Regions from separate parts of the Homo sapiens genome. Here region 2 is linked to region 1. The links are contacts of gene promoters, found by promoter capture Hi-C in blood cells and fetal thymus (Javierre and others, 2016). All regions are on one chromosome and are shown on one strand. Each heading gives the region's core, a stretch centred on a gene start or on the middle of the fragment in contact. The rest is flanking DNA. Distances are from core to core; before and after follow the strand shown.

Evidence for each region. Contacts are between HindIII fragments. The CHiCAGO score rates a contact against its expected background, and 5 or more counts as called.
Region 2: a contact is called between a fragment that was not itself captured here and the fragment with the promoter of CLTCL1 in region 1, in 1 of 17 cell types (naive CD8 T cells). The highest score is 5.4, in naive CD8 T cells.

Annotation. Positions count from the first base shown.
Region 1 is chr22:19,287,351-19,294,663 of GRCh38, forward strand. CLTCL1 (clathrin heavy chain like 1) reads right to left here and starts at 4,369. Exons shown (of 33, transcript NM_007098.4): 1 at 4,250-4,369. The coding sequence starts at 4,291. LOC105372859 (a long non-coding RNA gene) reads left to right here and starts at 4,597. Exons shown (of 6, transcript XR_938002.3): 1 at 4,597-4,980. RefSeq lists an enhancer at 3,558-4,071 and silencers at 4,182-4,366, 4,248-4,487. The HindIII fragment of the contact is 6,040 bases long and covers 2,892-7,313 here.
Region 2 is chr22:19,144,448-19,151,760 of GRCh38, forward strand. It overlaps ESS2 (ess-2 spliceosome associated protein), which reads right to left and starts at 204. Exons shown (of 10, transcript NM_022719.3): 1 at 59-204. The coding sequence starts at 193. It overlaps GSC2 (goosecoid homeobox 2), which reads right to left and starts at 5,845. Exons shown (of 3, transcript NM_005315.2): 1 at 5,578-5,845; 2 at 5,216-5,469; 3 at 2,546-4,648. The coding sequence starts at 5,836. The coding sequence ends at 4,544. RefSeq lists an enhancer at 4,797-5,296. The HindIII fragment of the contact is 1,303 bases long and covers 600-1,902 here.

The DNA.
Region 1 (7,313 bases), core at 3,119-5,618:
TCATTTCCACAGATACCAGAAGGCTCAGTAGGAGTCAGTGAGTAAAGAGGGGTGAGAGGAGAATGTGTTTTGGCAAGGACACAAAGGGAGCGGCAGCAGAGTTGAGCAGGTGTTGGGCTGGGAAGAACAGGAAAGAGCACGTGGGGATCAGTCTTTTCATGCCAGAGGAAACACGAAACCACTCCCTGAAGGACTTTAAGCAGATGCTCATCCTTGGAGATCATGTTGCCTGTGTGCTGGAGAATGGATCACAGGAGGGCAAGACTAGAAGTAGAAGGACAAAGCTAGCATGACCATCAAGGTGGGGAGGGATGGCATAGTTTAGGGAAACGGTAGTCATGATGACAGTGGCAGAACGATGCCAAAAGTAAACAGGAGAAAGGGACAACAGGATGGGGAAAACACATCCCAGGCTCCTGGCTGGACACTGGACAAGATACACATCTGGGGAGAAAGGGAACCCCATTTATGAACACTGTGTTTGAGGAACCTGCTGACCATTTCCTGGCCTTCTTCAGTAGGCAGCTGTCACAATGGCAGCAACAGCTCACAAGGACACAGTGCTTTACAGTAGTCCCTTCTTATCCGTGGTTTTTTTCACACTGTTACCTATAGTCTGAAAATATTAAATGTAAGACCCCAGAAATAAACAATTCATAAGTTTTAAATTGCATACCATTCTGCAGAGTGATGAAATCTTGCACCAGCCCACCCAGGACGTGAATTATCCCTCCTCTGCCCAGCATATCCACGCTGTAGACATTGCCAGCCCATTAGTCACTTAGTAGCGGTCAGTTACCAGGTTGACTGTTGCAGCATCACAGAGTTTGTGTTCAAGTAACCCTTAATTTACTTAATAATGGCCCCAAAGTCCAACAGTAGTGATGCTGGCATATTGTTATTATTGTTCTGTTTTATTATTAGTTATCATTGTTAATCTCTTACTGTGCTTAACATAAATTCAGCTTTATCATACATATGTATGCATAGGGAAAAAAAGTGTATAAAGGGTTCAGAACAATCTGCAGTTTCAGGCATCCTCTGGGGGTCTTAGAACATATTCCCCATGGGTAAATCGGGACTACTGTATTATGTAACAGTTATTGTTTAATGCTTTACATTTATTAACTCAAAAACCTCACAACTACCTTGTGAGATAAGAAGTATACCTTTTATCCTTATTTTATAGATGAAGATATAGAAGCACAAAAAAGCTACAAACATTGCCCTAAATCACACAGCCAGTAAGTGCCTGAGTCCACATTCAGTGCCTTCAGTTTGGCCTCAGTCTGTGCTCTTAACCAGGACCTGCTACTGCCTCACACACACACAGCAGTGAAACTGCGAAAACACTCGGATGGCTTGGGAACATCAAGCTTATGGGAATACATAACATCACCAGCAGCATGTCCTGAATGAAAAAGCAGAGGGGCTCAAGACAGATTCCAAGCTCATGCACAAGAGCCGCCCATGGGGCAGTGGGTGTGGGCAGAGAGGAAGGAGAAACCCTGGGAAACTGTGGAACCAAAAACAGTAGAGAAAGGACCCTCAGGAGGCAGTAAAGTGCAGCATCAAATGCGGCTGGACATCACAGAAGATGCGTGTGGTGTGATGGGCTTTATCTCACCTAGCTCATCGCATCTTATTTTTTGAGACGGAGTCTCGGTCTGTTACCCAGGCTGGAGAGTAGTGACATGATTTTGGCTCACTGCAACCTCTGCCTCCCGGGTTCAAGAGATTCTCCCGCCTCAGCCTCCTGACTAGCTGGGACTACAGGTGCGTACCAACACGCCCGGCTAATACTGTATTTTTAGTAGAGACGAGGTTTCACCATGTTGGCCAGGCTGGTCTCGAACTCCTGATCTCAGGTGATCCACCCGCCTCGGCCTCCCAAAGTGGTGGGATTACAGGTGTGAGCCACCATGCTCGGCCTGATTTTATTTTTTACAGCAAAGATTAGCCAACTGCAGCCTGCTTTTGTATGGCTAAACTAAAAGTCTTTTTCATATTTTTAGAAGGTTAAAAAATGTAAGAATATGGGACAGAGACAGAATGTGGCCCTTACAAAAAAGCCTGCAGGATGGCTTGTAACCTTGGCAAAAACAGATTCAGGGGAAAAAATGGGGACAAAAGCCAGACTGCAGGTTACTGTGGAACATAAAAATAATGAAGCACTAAAGCAGCTCTTTCATGACATCCAGCTATGAGACAAGAGCTTCGTGGGGACAAGAGCGGGGGAAGAAGTTTGCTGGTTGTACAGATGGAAGAGAGGTGAGCATTGCCCAACACAAACAGGAAGAAACAACAAGACAGAAGGATGAAAATACAGGAAAGGGAGGCTATGACTGAACGAGGCTCCCTTATAGGGAAGAAGGATACCAGATCCAGAACATAGACAAGAAAGGACACCTACTTTTGAGGTAACAGGAAGGCAGGAAAGGGTGGCTGCAGACAAACATCTAAGTCTGCAGCCATATAGGTGAGAAACATCCCAGTTATGGCTTCAGTTTTCTCCAAGTCATCTGCTGGTTGCAAGGCAGGAGTGGCAGGATCAGGGATTTAAGGAACAGGCTGAAGTCTCGAAATGTCTGTAGTGAAGGCAGTGTGTGCTGACTCAGTGTTTGCTCTACAGAATGCACAGCAGCCTCAAAGACCCAGTCAGTGTTAGAGACCACAAACCAGACTTGCATTCACGTGGCTGCCCACCACAAGCCACAAGCATTTTCCAGATAATGGAACATATCAACTCTGATGGACATTACAAATCCTGATGGACATTAGAAACTCTGATGGACACCTAAAATATCTTGTTGCTTTCTTGCCCTTTGAAAAGAACATATTTAGATAGTGGTTAAGCACAGGCATTGGAATCAGACCTGGGTTAGAACTCAAGCTTTGTCACTTACTAGCCATGTAACTTTTGCTGAAGGAATTAGAATATTAACCTCAGTGACCCATGGTAGAAAACAGGATATCACTATCTGCCTCAGTTATCATGAGGATTAAATTAAACCAGATTTATAAAATACAGTAGTCTAGTGAGTGGCAAGAGAAACGGCTCAGTAAATGATAACTACATCATCATCATTATTATGAGCAGCAGCAGTATTTTGCTACCTCAACATGACTGGTGCTGGCTTAGCTTAGTGGCAGAATGAAGCCCGGACAGATGTCAGGGCACTCCCACCTCCATACAACTTCCACTGTGTCACTAACCAAGTGACCCTGGCAGGATCCCCTGGATATCAAGTTTCCAGTCTGCAGAATGAGGGGACTGGACTGCACTACACAGTTCCCAAGGCTTTTCCCGTCTGCATCTAGGGCTAACAGTGCTCTGCACTGTGAAAATAGGAACTTTCAAGCAAGCACGTTCCTCGATGTACTACTTTGTGGTCAAAAAGACTTGAGTCTGAATCCTGTTCTTATTGAATGAAGATGAGTTCTTTAACACTTTTGAGACTCGGTTTCCTCATCTAGAAAAGAGTAAGCGAATCGCAACGAATGGTAGTGTGATGATTTAACACAGAGCACTCAGGGAGGAGCCGCTGGCTATCCCTCCTCTGCCGCACCTCCCAGGGTAAACGTGGGGACCAGCACCGCTCCCGGGCAGACCCGCGAGCGGCCCGCACGACGCCCGACCTGAGCCTTTGCTCAAAGCAGGGGGCCAGTCCTTATGTTTCTGAACACAAACAAATGGAGAACAAACTGGGACCTTATTAAAAAGGCAGGCTTTGGGGGTGTTACTGCATTGAAAAGCCCTATTTAGGCTTGGCCCTGAGAAATTTTTCTCTTGGGTCACGCATGTTCACGGTCCTCCCAGGCGAAGCCGCCCTGGGGACGAAAACCGATCACAGAGGCAAACTCAGGGGCGAATAAGGACCGCAGGACGCCAAGGAGGGGCGTGGAGCTGTGGGATCCGCGCGGCCCTTGGGTTGCCCTGCCTGCAGCGGGAATTTGTGTGCCTCCTCGCGGGCACTGAGCGGGGCGTCCCAGGGGGCGTTGGCTTCCACCCCCACCATTCCCCAGCCGGCCCCGCCGGTAACGGGCTTCGGCGACGGCACCCAAGCGGGTCCTCAGGAGCGGCCGCCGCGCCCGGGACGCCGCAGCCCCAGCCCAGGTGGGAGGTCGGAAATCGGCGCGGCCAGCTGGGCAGCGGCTCAGCGGGGCTGGGGGCGCGGGGTCAAGCCTGGCAGTCCGGCCCGGCGGAGGCGCGGCTGACAGGGCAGCCCCCCAGCCCGCCGGGCCTCACCTGGAAGTGCTCCTGAAAGCGAACAGGGAGGATCTGCGCCATGGCTGGTGCGGGACCTCGGCGGCGGCGGCGGCAGCGGCAGGAATGAACGCCGACCCCTCGCGCGGGCTGACCGGTGGCGACGGCGCAGGCGCAGTGCCCCGAGCTCCCGGTCCTGGCCCCCGCCCTCCTCCCTGACCGCGCCCCGGCCCGCACCCCCTTTCCCCGCCCCTTCCCCCGCCCCTGCCCCGCCCCTGCCCCGCCTCTGCCCCGCCCCTGCCCCCGCCCCTGCCCCCGCCCCTGCCCCCGCCTCTGCCCCGTCCCGCCTGCGCGGATCCCTCCGCCCGCTCCGAGGGTCCGCGGAAAGTAGTCCCGCGCGCCCTCTGCCCTGACGCGGTGTGTGCCAGCTACCCGAGTGAAAGGTTTTCGGGGGATTAATCCTGATGGGGTCTGCGGCGGCCCTTGCCCAGCGCCTTCCACATGTGGAGCGGGCCAGTGGTGCTAGTTCTGCCGCCAACTCTGGACGGTTGAGTTCAGGGCCACTTTTTACTCAGGCACGGATGTGACAGAAAGATGGAAAAGGGTCTTGGAAGAACCACATGTGCCGTATAACGAACGACCTTTTGGTCTGAGGAGGACCGTGTATATGACGGTGGTCCCATAACATGATAACGGAGCTGGAAACTTCCTGTCCTCTGGTGAGGGCTTAGCTAAGGACATTTCCTCTCCTGTATTTGGAGATACACGTACAGGTATGTCATTACCGTGCCAGGGGAATAACGCACCTCACACGCGGTGCGGGTTTGCGGCCTAGCAGCAGCGGACCGCATCAGCTGCCTAGTTGTGTAGTGGCTGTGCCATCTGAGTTTGTGTAAGTTACCTTGTGATGATCCCACAACCGAGACGCATGTCTCAGAATGCATGGATGCATGGGACGCGTGACTGTACGTGTTACAGACGTGTTTCGGCGTGAGGCTCGGCCCCTGCTCCTTTAGGAAACACCTTTCCTGGCTCATGCGGTTTCTAGAGAACACTGTGTCGGAATATCAATGTAGAGAGTCAGCGAAGGTCATCTAGCAGCAGATGACCAGCCCCAGGCCAGTGAGGATCACCCAGAGTGCCCGTGGCTGCACGACAGTAGTAGCAGGTGGAAGCTGGAGCCCACACCTGGTTTGCCCAGCAGCCAGTTGTTTTTCCGAGGCACCGTTGGCTGATGTTTTGCATACAGATGATTCAGCTGCATAAAAGATGTCTGTCAGGAAAGGGAAGCCCTTGGCATTCAGCACAGGCACTCCCTACGGGGTAATCGATAGCCGTCTCTGCTGCTTCCCATGTTGCTCACTGGTAATTTTAAGAAATGAACGGCCCACCTTGAATAAGACAAGGATGGTGCAATTATTTGCGCAATGGCTTGACCATCTAGTAGCCAAAAATATGTTAAGGAATAGAACAGACTGTTCACTTTCAAATTAAATCTCTTTTCCAGTATTAGCCAAGACCTCTGCAGCCCGCCCTTTCTAAAATCCATGTGGCCTCATCCGCTAAATATAGAGCTGGGTTTTGCTGTGGTTAGTACTACATTTCCCAAATCTCTTTATTTTGGCAATGATGCCTGTGACTCCAAGTACCCTTTACCCCAAACATTATATAAATTTTTTAGTAATTAATACCATCACTCCCTAAATCACCTTCCCCAGGGCTTTTTGGGGATTAAAACTAAAATTTTATACCCTAAAAGAAAGAATTTAAGAAAATCATAGTTAAGCAAAGTGACAGGATTGTTAATACGTCGGGACCTCAAGTGGGGATTAAGTTTCAACATTAATTTTAGAGGAGACACAAATCTTTCTGTCTCTTCAAACCATAGAAGAGACAGAAAGCACAACAGTTATTTGAATAGACAGAAGTGAATATAAGTGATAGTTGTAGTTAACAGGAAATAAAGTTGTTAATATACTTGTAAAAAAATTAAATGTTCTGACTTGAAAGGGACTTTAATATTCTCACCACTTGTAGGTAACTTGCTAAGTAACCCTAAAAAAACCTTTCAATTCTTTTTTTTTTTTTTTTTTTTTTGAGACAAGAGTCTCGCTCTGTCGCCCAGGCTGGTGTGCAGTGGCACGATCTCTGCTCACTGCAACCTCTGCCTCTCAGGTTCCAGCCATTCTCCTGCCTCAGCCTCCCAAGTAGCTGGGACTACAGGCGCACGCCACCGCACCTGGCTAATTTTTCATTTTTAGTAGAGACAGGGTCTCACCATGTTGACCAGGCTGGTCTCAAACTCCTGGCCTCAGGTGATCCATCCACCTCGGCCTTCCAAAGTGCTGGGATTACAGGTGTGAGCCACCGCGCCTGGCCCGGGATTAAGTTTCAACATTAATTTTGAAGGGGACACAAACCTTCAAACCACAGAAGAGAGAGAAAGTGCATCAGTTATTTAAACAAAGGGAACTGAATATAAACAATAGTTAACAGGAAGTAAATTTAAAATAATAAAAAGAAAATCCCAAGATATGGAGTTACAAACATAGGACACAGCTACCACCCCTAGAGCTCAAAGATGAAAGAGAAGCTGGAATTATTACAGCTTAAAGGAAGGGCTTGCAGAGCTGGAATTCAGATCTCTGAGGAGGTGTGTTGACCAGCTGGGGCTGGGGTCATTGAGCCCAGAGGAGAGATCCCATGGGGATGGGACTCAGACCTCTGAGGAGGGTCCCTACGGGACTTAGACACACACTATGGATGAGGGGTGGCTGTGGAGCTGGGAGTAAGCCCTCTAAAGAGGGCACTGGGAGACTCTCACCCAGATCTCTAAGGAGAAGGCATACTGAGGCTGGTTCTGCAAGTCTTGGAAAAACTTAAACTGGATTCAGCTTCTGTGGGAAGAATGTGCTGCTGCCTTGTTGAAGAAGCCTAGCTGGGGTGATGCTCACAGGAAGTGGCCCTGTGGTCTCCCTCTATCAACCTATCAGCTTAGTCTAATAGGGAATATTAGATCAGATCTTCTTTATTTGCCAATGAGAAATATGTTTTTTAGAGTCTCAGCCCTGGCATCAGAAGCAGTGTCTAGAGGTGGGAAGGGAGA
Region 2 (7,313 bases), core at 1-2,500, 150 kb before region 1:
AGGAGCTTGAAGCAGAGGATGGGCCCAGAAGTCGCCGGCGTCCGCACCGAGGTCGTACCTCGATATACTCTTCCTCGTCCAGGACCCGCTGCTTGCTCGTCGCAGCCCCAGCCTCTCCCGCCTCGCGCTTCCTCGGGGGCCTGGACGCGGCGGGAAGCAACAAGGACGACGCTGATGCGCCCGGCGTCTCCATCGCTATCCCAGGAAAAAGCTCGGGCCCAGCAGGCGCGTCACAGGGTGGAGGGGGCGGGACTGCACCATTTGCGCAGGCGCCTCCAATAGTTGGCCAATGGAAAAGCTGTGGCTCTAGAAAGCCAGCCCGCGCTCCGTTCTGACGTCACTATAAATGCTAGACTTTATTGGAAATGTAGTCCTTGTCCTGCCCCGCGCTATTCATGCTTGTCAATGCTGTGAACACGAGGGGGTGCTGTGGAGGTGGCGGGGAGGATGCTATAGGGCGTGTTCTTCACGCGAGAAATTCTGGCTTTGCAGCGTCCAAAGGCCTTAGAATTCTAATTTCCCACAAATAAGAACTATGTATGCTTCGAGATTATTCTACAAAAATACAAACCAGGAAATTTACTTATATAGGAGTTTCAAGCTTTATGCAAGAAAAGGGCCTTAAAACAATTTTTTTTTTGAGACGGAGTTTCGGTCTTGTTGCCCAGGCTGGAGTGCAATGGCATGATCTCGGCTCACCGGAGTTCCCGGGTTCAAGGGATTCTCCTGCCTCAGCCTCCCGAGTAGCTGGGATTACAGGCATGGGCCACCACGCCCGGCTAATTTTGCATTTTTAGTAGAGACAGGGTTTCTCTATGTTGGTCAGGCTGGTCTCTGGATTACAGGCGTGAGCCACCGCACCCGGCCAAAACAATCTTTTTTTTTTTTTTATAGTTATCTAACAAAAGGTGAAAGAACAAGACAGTGGTTCGATTAAGAAATGTCTAAAGATTATTCTGTAATCCCAGAACTTTGAGAGGCCAAGACAGGCGGATCACCTGAGGTCAGGAGTTCTAGACCAGCCTGGCCAACAAGATGAAACCCCATCTCTACTAAAAACACACAAAAAAATTAGCTGGGCATGGTGGTGGACGCCTGTAATCCCAGCTACTCGGAAGGCTGAGGCTGGAGAATTGCTTGAACCCAGGAGGCGGAGGTTGCAGTGAGCTGAGATTGCACCATTGCACTCCAGCCTGGGTAACAAGAGCAAAACTCTGTCAAAAAAAAAAAAAAGATTATTGGGCCCCCAAATGCCAGAGTGGGCTTCCCAGAAGAGGGATCATTCTCATTCAAGACCAGGCACGGTGGCTCACGCCTGTAACCTCAGCACTTTGGGAGACCCAGGCAGGTGGATCACTTGAAGTCAGGAGATTGAGACCAGCCTGGCCAACATGGTGAAACCCCAACTCTACTAAAAAAAAAAAAAAATACAAAGTGGTGGTAGGTGCCTGTAGTCCCAGCTACTTGGGAGGCTGAGGCAGGAAAATCACTCAAACCCAGGAGGTGGAAACTGCAGTGAGCAGAGATTGTGCCACTGCACTACAGCCTGGGTGACAGAGTGAAACTCTGTCAAGAAAAAAAAAAATTAATATTCAAGTGAACCAGAAAATTGCCTCGGCATTTTTAAGGAATTTCTTCCCAAACGAAAGATGTGAATTGTGTTGGACAAATAAATTCCGCCCTGGAACAATTTAATACAATTTTGCTTTTGCAACATACAGGGATACCTTCATTCACTGAAGTGCAGCGTGCTGCTGCTGCCCTTGTAGAAGTGACAGTGCAATGGGGAAGACAGAGACACTTGTTAGATCATCACACAAACAGGTGTAAAATTGCAGCTGTGTCCGTGCAAGAAAAGAGTTTGTACTTGGGGAATCTTGACCTAGTTCGGGAGGTCAGAGAAGCTTCCCCAGGCAGAAAGTGATTGCAGATTCAAAAGACGAACAAACCGGCAACAGTCAGGTGGAAAGAGCATGTGCAAAGGCCTAGTGGTGGGAGGGAGCAAGGCAAGTTCTAAAGAAGTCCTTTGGAAATGCAGAGTGCAGTGAGGTGTGAGATGATGCCAGAGAGGCAGGGCCAGGCTGCACAGGGCCTTGTAGGGTATGGTGAGGTGGTTTGTCTTCATTCTGAATTGAAGGGGCAGGCCAGGCACAGTGGCTCATGCCTATAATCCCAGCACTTTGGAAGGCCTAGGCCGGCGGATAGTTTGAGGTCAGAAGTTTGAGACCAGCCTGGCCAACATGGCAAGACCTCATCTCTACAAAAAACTTTTCAAGTTAGTCGGGTGTGGTGGTGCCCACCTGTGGTCCTAGCTACTCAGAAGGCTGATGGGGGAGGATCGCTTGAGCCCAGGAGCTGGAGGCTATAGTGAGCCATGATTGCACCACTACACTCCAGCTTGGGTGATGGAGCGAGACCTTGTCTCAAACCAACCGACAAACAAAAAAGCAGAGCCAGTGTGGTGCAGGTGGACAAGATTAGAGACAGTTGCAGTGGTCAAGGTGAGAGGTGACGGTGGCTTACATCAGACTGGTGCAGTTAGAGCTGGAGAGATTCTGGGATTTATTGATTTATTGATAAACAGTAAAACTGACTTCCTGTCAGCCTGGGTATAGTGGATGATCAGGAGAGGGAGGGGTCCAGGGACCAGTTTCGGGTGGGCGGCTAGCTCTCTGGCTCATGTGCCTGGTTTGCACAGAAGAGCTCACTGTGGACAAGGTGACCTTAAGGAGTCTGTGGGCTTCAAGGGGACAGCTGGAGATAAATACCTGGCTCAGGGGAAGTGCCTGGCTTGAGATGTAAATGTGGCAGAAAGATGGGAATTGGAGTCTGAGGGTAAAAGATAAACCGGGAAGAGGGTGAAGATGAGAAGCGAGCGCCTGGGTGTGAGCGTGAAGGATGCCTATGTTAATAGCCTGCTGTGGGGGGTCAGCCTGCCAAGGAGCAGCTAGAGCTCAAGAAGCAAATTCAGGAGAGCAACACAGCCACTGAGCCCTGGAAGGTGGCGCTCCACAAGCTCTGATCGGGGCTCCCAAAACAATGACAGATGGCCATTCAACCAAGGAACTCAAGGGGCCTGGAGCCTGTGAGATGCGAGTGTCCCCAGCTGCAAGGGAGCTGACTGGGACACGGGCATGTCCACAGGTAGTCTGTTCAGTCCCCAAGGGCAAGACCAGGGTTCAGGGAGAAGGGCTTTGTGTGCATGCTAGGGGTGGAGGCGGGGATGCTAGGGACACCCAGCAGTGTCAGGGCAGTTCTGACTGGGGACACCATGCTTGCTTGGTGTTATCCAAGCTGGCCAGCCTTGGGGTGTCTGGGGAGCTGCAGCCCTGGCTTCTGCAGTCCTGCTTTTAGAGATGGACTTCATCTCTTGCAGGTAGAATGGCCCCATTCCCTGCAGGGCCTGTAAGGAGACAGAACGAGGTGCTCAAGCCAGCTGGGGGTGGGGATGTGAGATGCTTTGGACCCACTGTAGGGCCTACTTGGGGAATCTAAGGCTTCTTTCCACTGTGCCTTTTGCCATGGGCCAGGATAAAGAAGGGGAGGGCAGGCATCTTCCCAGGCAGCAGGGGCGGGGTCTCCCCAGTCCAACCTCCTCTTGCCCTACCCTAGGATGGCACAGATTGCTGTGAGGGAGTCCGAGCCCACAGCATGAAAACCCCAGGAGGAAGCAGGGGACCCTCACCCATGGGCAGGTTCACAGTAGCCTAGAGGCCAGGGCTGGACCCCAGGGGTCCAAGGCCACCATCCGTGGAGCAGTCCCCTCTGCTGGGGAGCACCCTGGTGCAGAGACTGAGGATCGCTGAGCTGTGCTCCTCTCAAAGACAGCTGTACCCTAAATACCCCCTCGCTGGGAAGGAAGAAGAAGGGACAGCTCCTTGTTGGGTGTGGGAGTGGAGCCAAGGTGGACTTGAGACTCTGGGCGGCTTCTGTGGTATTTGAAGTTGCTAGTTTCTCAGTATCAGCGCGAGGCTCGAAGGTGAAGGGACTGTGGAGGGGCTCCTGGAATCGCTCCTGCGACCTTCTTATTCTACAGGTCCAGATACCAAGACCCAGCCCAGGGCCTGGGAAGCCTGCAACGCCAGGACTGCACAGACACGAACCCCATCCCCTCTCCCGCTGGGGGAGGACGAGCCAGGTCAAGTTAGGTCAATGTCCACATTGAGAAGAGGGTGGCCAGCATGTCCCAGGGTGCGGAGAGACGCTCCACTGCGTAGGATTCTGGGTCCCGTGTTGATACGGGGTGGTTCCCCTCCTGCGGTGGAGTTAGTGTCTCTCGGGGGGTAGGGAGCTGAGGAAACTGCTCTATGCCCCAGCCCACCCCCAAGGGACTCGCCACTCCCACTGCCGTGGAACACCAAGCACCGGGGGCCCGTCCCCAGCGCCACGGCAGCACGAGCTGCAGGAGGCAAGGGCTGTGGAGACGGGTGGAGGCGGCCGGTGTACTCTCCCAGCTCCTTTTCGGGTAGACCTGTCTTCTCTCAGCGCCAACTCCAAAGATCCCAAAAAGGGTGGCCGAGCCCAGGGGCAGCTCCTAGAGTCATCAGCAGCTCCCCTTCGGGGACTTCTTGACGCCGGGCAGGAGCCTCGCGGAAGCCGACGCGCGCTTCTGGTGTCGCCATTTGGCCCGGCGGTTCTTGAACCAGACCTGGGGATGGGGGGAATGCTCAGCCCTAGCCCCAGGTCCTGCGTCCCACCGGCTCCCGAGGGTCCCACAGGGACCGAGAGGGGAGCTTCGCAACAGGGATGTGGGCGGACGGCGCTGTAGAGCCGACACCCGGGCCGCGGCTGCGCGCCACCTGCCCTTATTCGCTGCGGACAGACTCGGTGGGTCTGGACGCGAGATGGGAACCCCCTTAGTACCCGCCCCAGCCTCCAGCTGGCGGCGACCAGGACGCCCCTTCTTGGGTTGCGGGCTCTTCTGAATTTCCCAAATTCTGGACGTGAACGCGGGCCTCTTTCGTCACCAGAGGAAAGTGTAAAACAAAAGAAAAGAAAAGTAGCCCTCCGGTTCCTTTCCCGCGGCACCTCCCTGCTCTCACCCGCTCCTCATACCCCCGGACGCCCAGCGCCGTCCAGGGACCTCCTCCCTCCGGCGCGCCAGGGCGGGGCTTGGGCCGAGGCCGTCTTTGCAAAGGGCGCCCGCCCGCCAGGACCCCAGTCCAGTGTAGCCGCGGCCCGCGCGCTCCGGGGAAAGGCTGGGCGGGGCACTCACCTCCACGCGCTCCTCGCGAAGGCGGATGCGGCCGGCCAGGCGCTCGCGCGTACTCACGTCAGGATACTGGTTCTGCACGAAAAGCGCCTCGAGCGCCTGCAGCTGCTCTTCGCTGAAGATGGTGCGGTGGCGCCTCGTGCGCCGCTGCGAACCCGGGCCGACCGCGCCCGGGAGCGCCCCGGAACCTCCGGCTGGCGCACCCAGAGACAAGGGCACCGCCGGTCCCAGCCTCAGCGGCCACGCCAGACGAGCGCCTGCGGAGCGAGGGCGCGGTGAGGCGCGGGGCTGGGGCCAAGCTCGGCACCCACTGCGCCGCGCCCCGGGCTCCGCCGGGCCCCGCGCCCCGCTCCGCGCCCACTCACCCAGCCCGGCGGCCGCCTCTGGGGGCCCGCAGGGCGCCGCGCGGGGGCCGCAGCAGCAGCAGCAGGCGCAGGGCGCAGCCTCGGGCGCCCCGGGCTCCTCTGGCTTCGCGGGGCTCTGGCGACCGGCGGGCTGCGGTGGGCAGGCGGCCCGGGCCGGGAGGCTCCGCTCGGGCAGGCTGGAGAGGATGTGCTCGATGGAGAAGGGGCAGGGCCGCCCGGCACCCCGGCGGCTCGCCGCGCCCCCAGCCGCTGCCGCCATGCCCGGCCCGGCCGGGGCGCCGCCGCCGCGGGAATATATACGTCGGGGAGGGAGCGCGCAGTAATCCCCGGGCCGGGCGTCCAGTCCACGCGGGTTAATCCCGCAGCGCCGGCCGCGAACGCGCTAATCCTCGACTGCGGCGGCCCTGCCTCCGCGCGCGGGGGCCGGGGGCGCTGCAGAGAGGGCCCCCTGTGCCCCCCACCCCGCCCCGCGTCCTCCTGCCCCACCCGCGCCCGCCGCTCAAGCTGGCAGGGCGACCTGCGGGGAAGGGGCGGAGGGCCGCCTCGCCGCCGCCCGCGGGGCCTGGCAGCCGCTCGGAGGGCGCCCCGACCCTGGCAGCTCCCCAGAGCGCGGCGGTGCCTCCCGGCCCAGCCTCTGGTGGCTCCCCCTCGTTCGGCTGGGCCTAATTCCTCGTCCCCTCTGGGGCCCTACTGCGGCGGCTCAGCACGCCTGCAGAAGCTCGGCCTAGCCGCCCACCCGAAACTCCTGGACCGCAGCCTCCATGGGGCCCAGCACCACCGGCAACCGCACGATCCCGCCGCGCTCGGGTCCCGAACCTGCCCGCCACCTCGGAGCCAGGGTCTCATGGCCCTGGAGGGCGTGAGAGCGCGGCAGGAAGCCTGGGCTGCCGGGTGCCCCCAGTTCTCCGTCTCCTCACCTGTGTCAAGGAGACCTCCCCGCCCCTTCCGAGGCCCCTCCTCGGTGCTTCAGAGCCGCCTGTCCTCCAGCTTTCCCACTGGTCCCAGAATCCCCGCGAAAACATCCAACACTGCACCTCGCCCTTCCCCGCACTGTCACTGCCCCCCAGAAGCTGTGGGCTCCCCCTCCTCGCTCTCCGCCCAGGCCAGTCCTCTGGCCACACCGTCCTCGGTCCCTTCTGCCACAGCGCAGGTGACCCGCACTTGGCTACATTGTTTCACCCTCAGTGAAGCGGCTCCTGGCAGCGGGACCGTCACTTCAGCTTAAGACCCTTTCCTCTTGACCTTTGAAAATACAGTATGGGACTCATAGCACAGAGAAACAGACGGCCTGGCTCATACTCCGTTGTCAATTTCTGGCCGTGTGACCTCCATAGGCGTCTTCAGCCTCTGGGCTTGGCTTTCCCAATCTGTAAAGTGTAGTGACTAGGTGTGAGACGGTTAGAACCTGGCCGCCTCCCCAGGGCAATGCGTATTCCTGCGCTCCTCCCGCCGCCAGCCCCTCTGCAAGACTCTGCCATCCCCACTCTGCTATCAGTGAAAGTGCTGTGGACATCACTGTGACCGAACCTGCTGATTTAATTTCTGTCACAAGAGCTCCCACATAGGTTTCCCAGGGGTAGTCTGGAGGCTCAGTGATGAGCTGCCACCTCCATGAGTGGCTCTGTCAACCCCTCCTCCACCCACCTCTTGGTGGTAGAATGGCTGCCACAGCCCCACACTTTTCATCTCCTCCCATGGCCCTTTGGATGGCCATGGATCCCTCCTCCCTCAGCAGA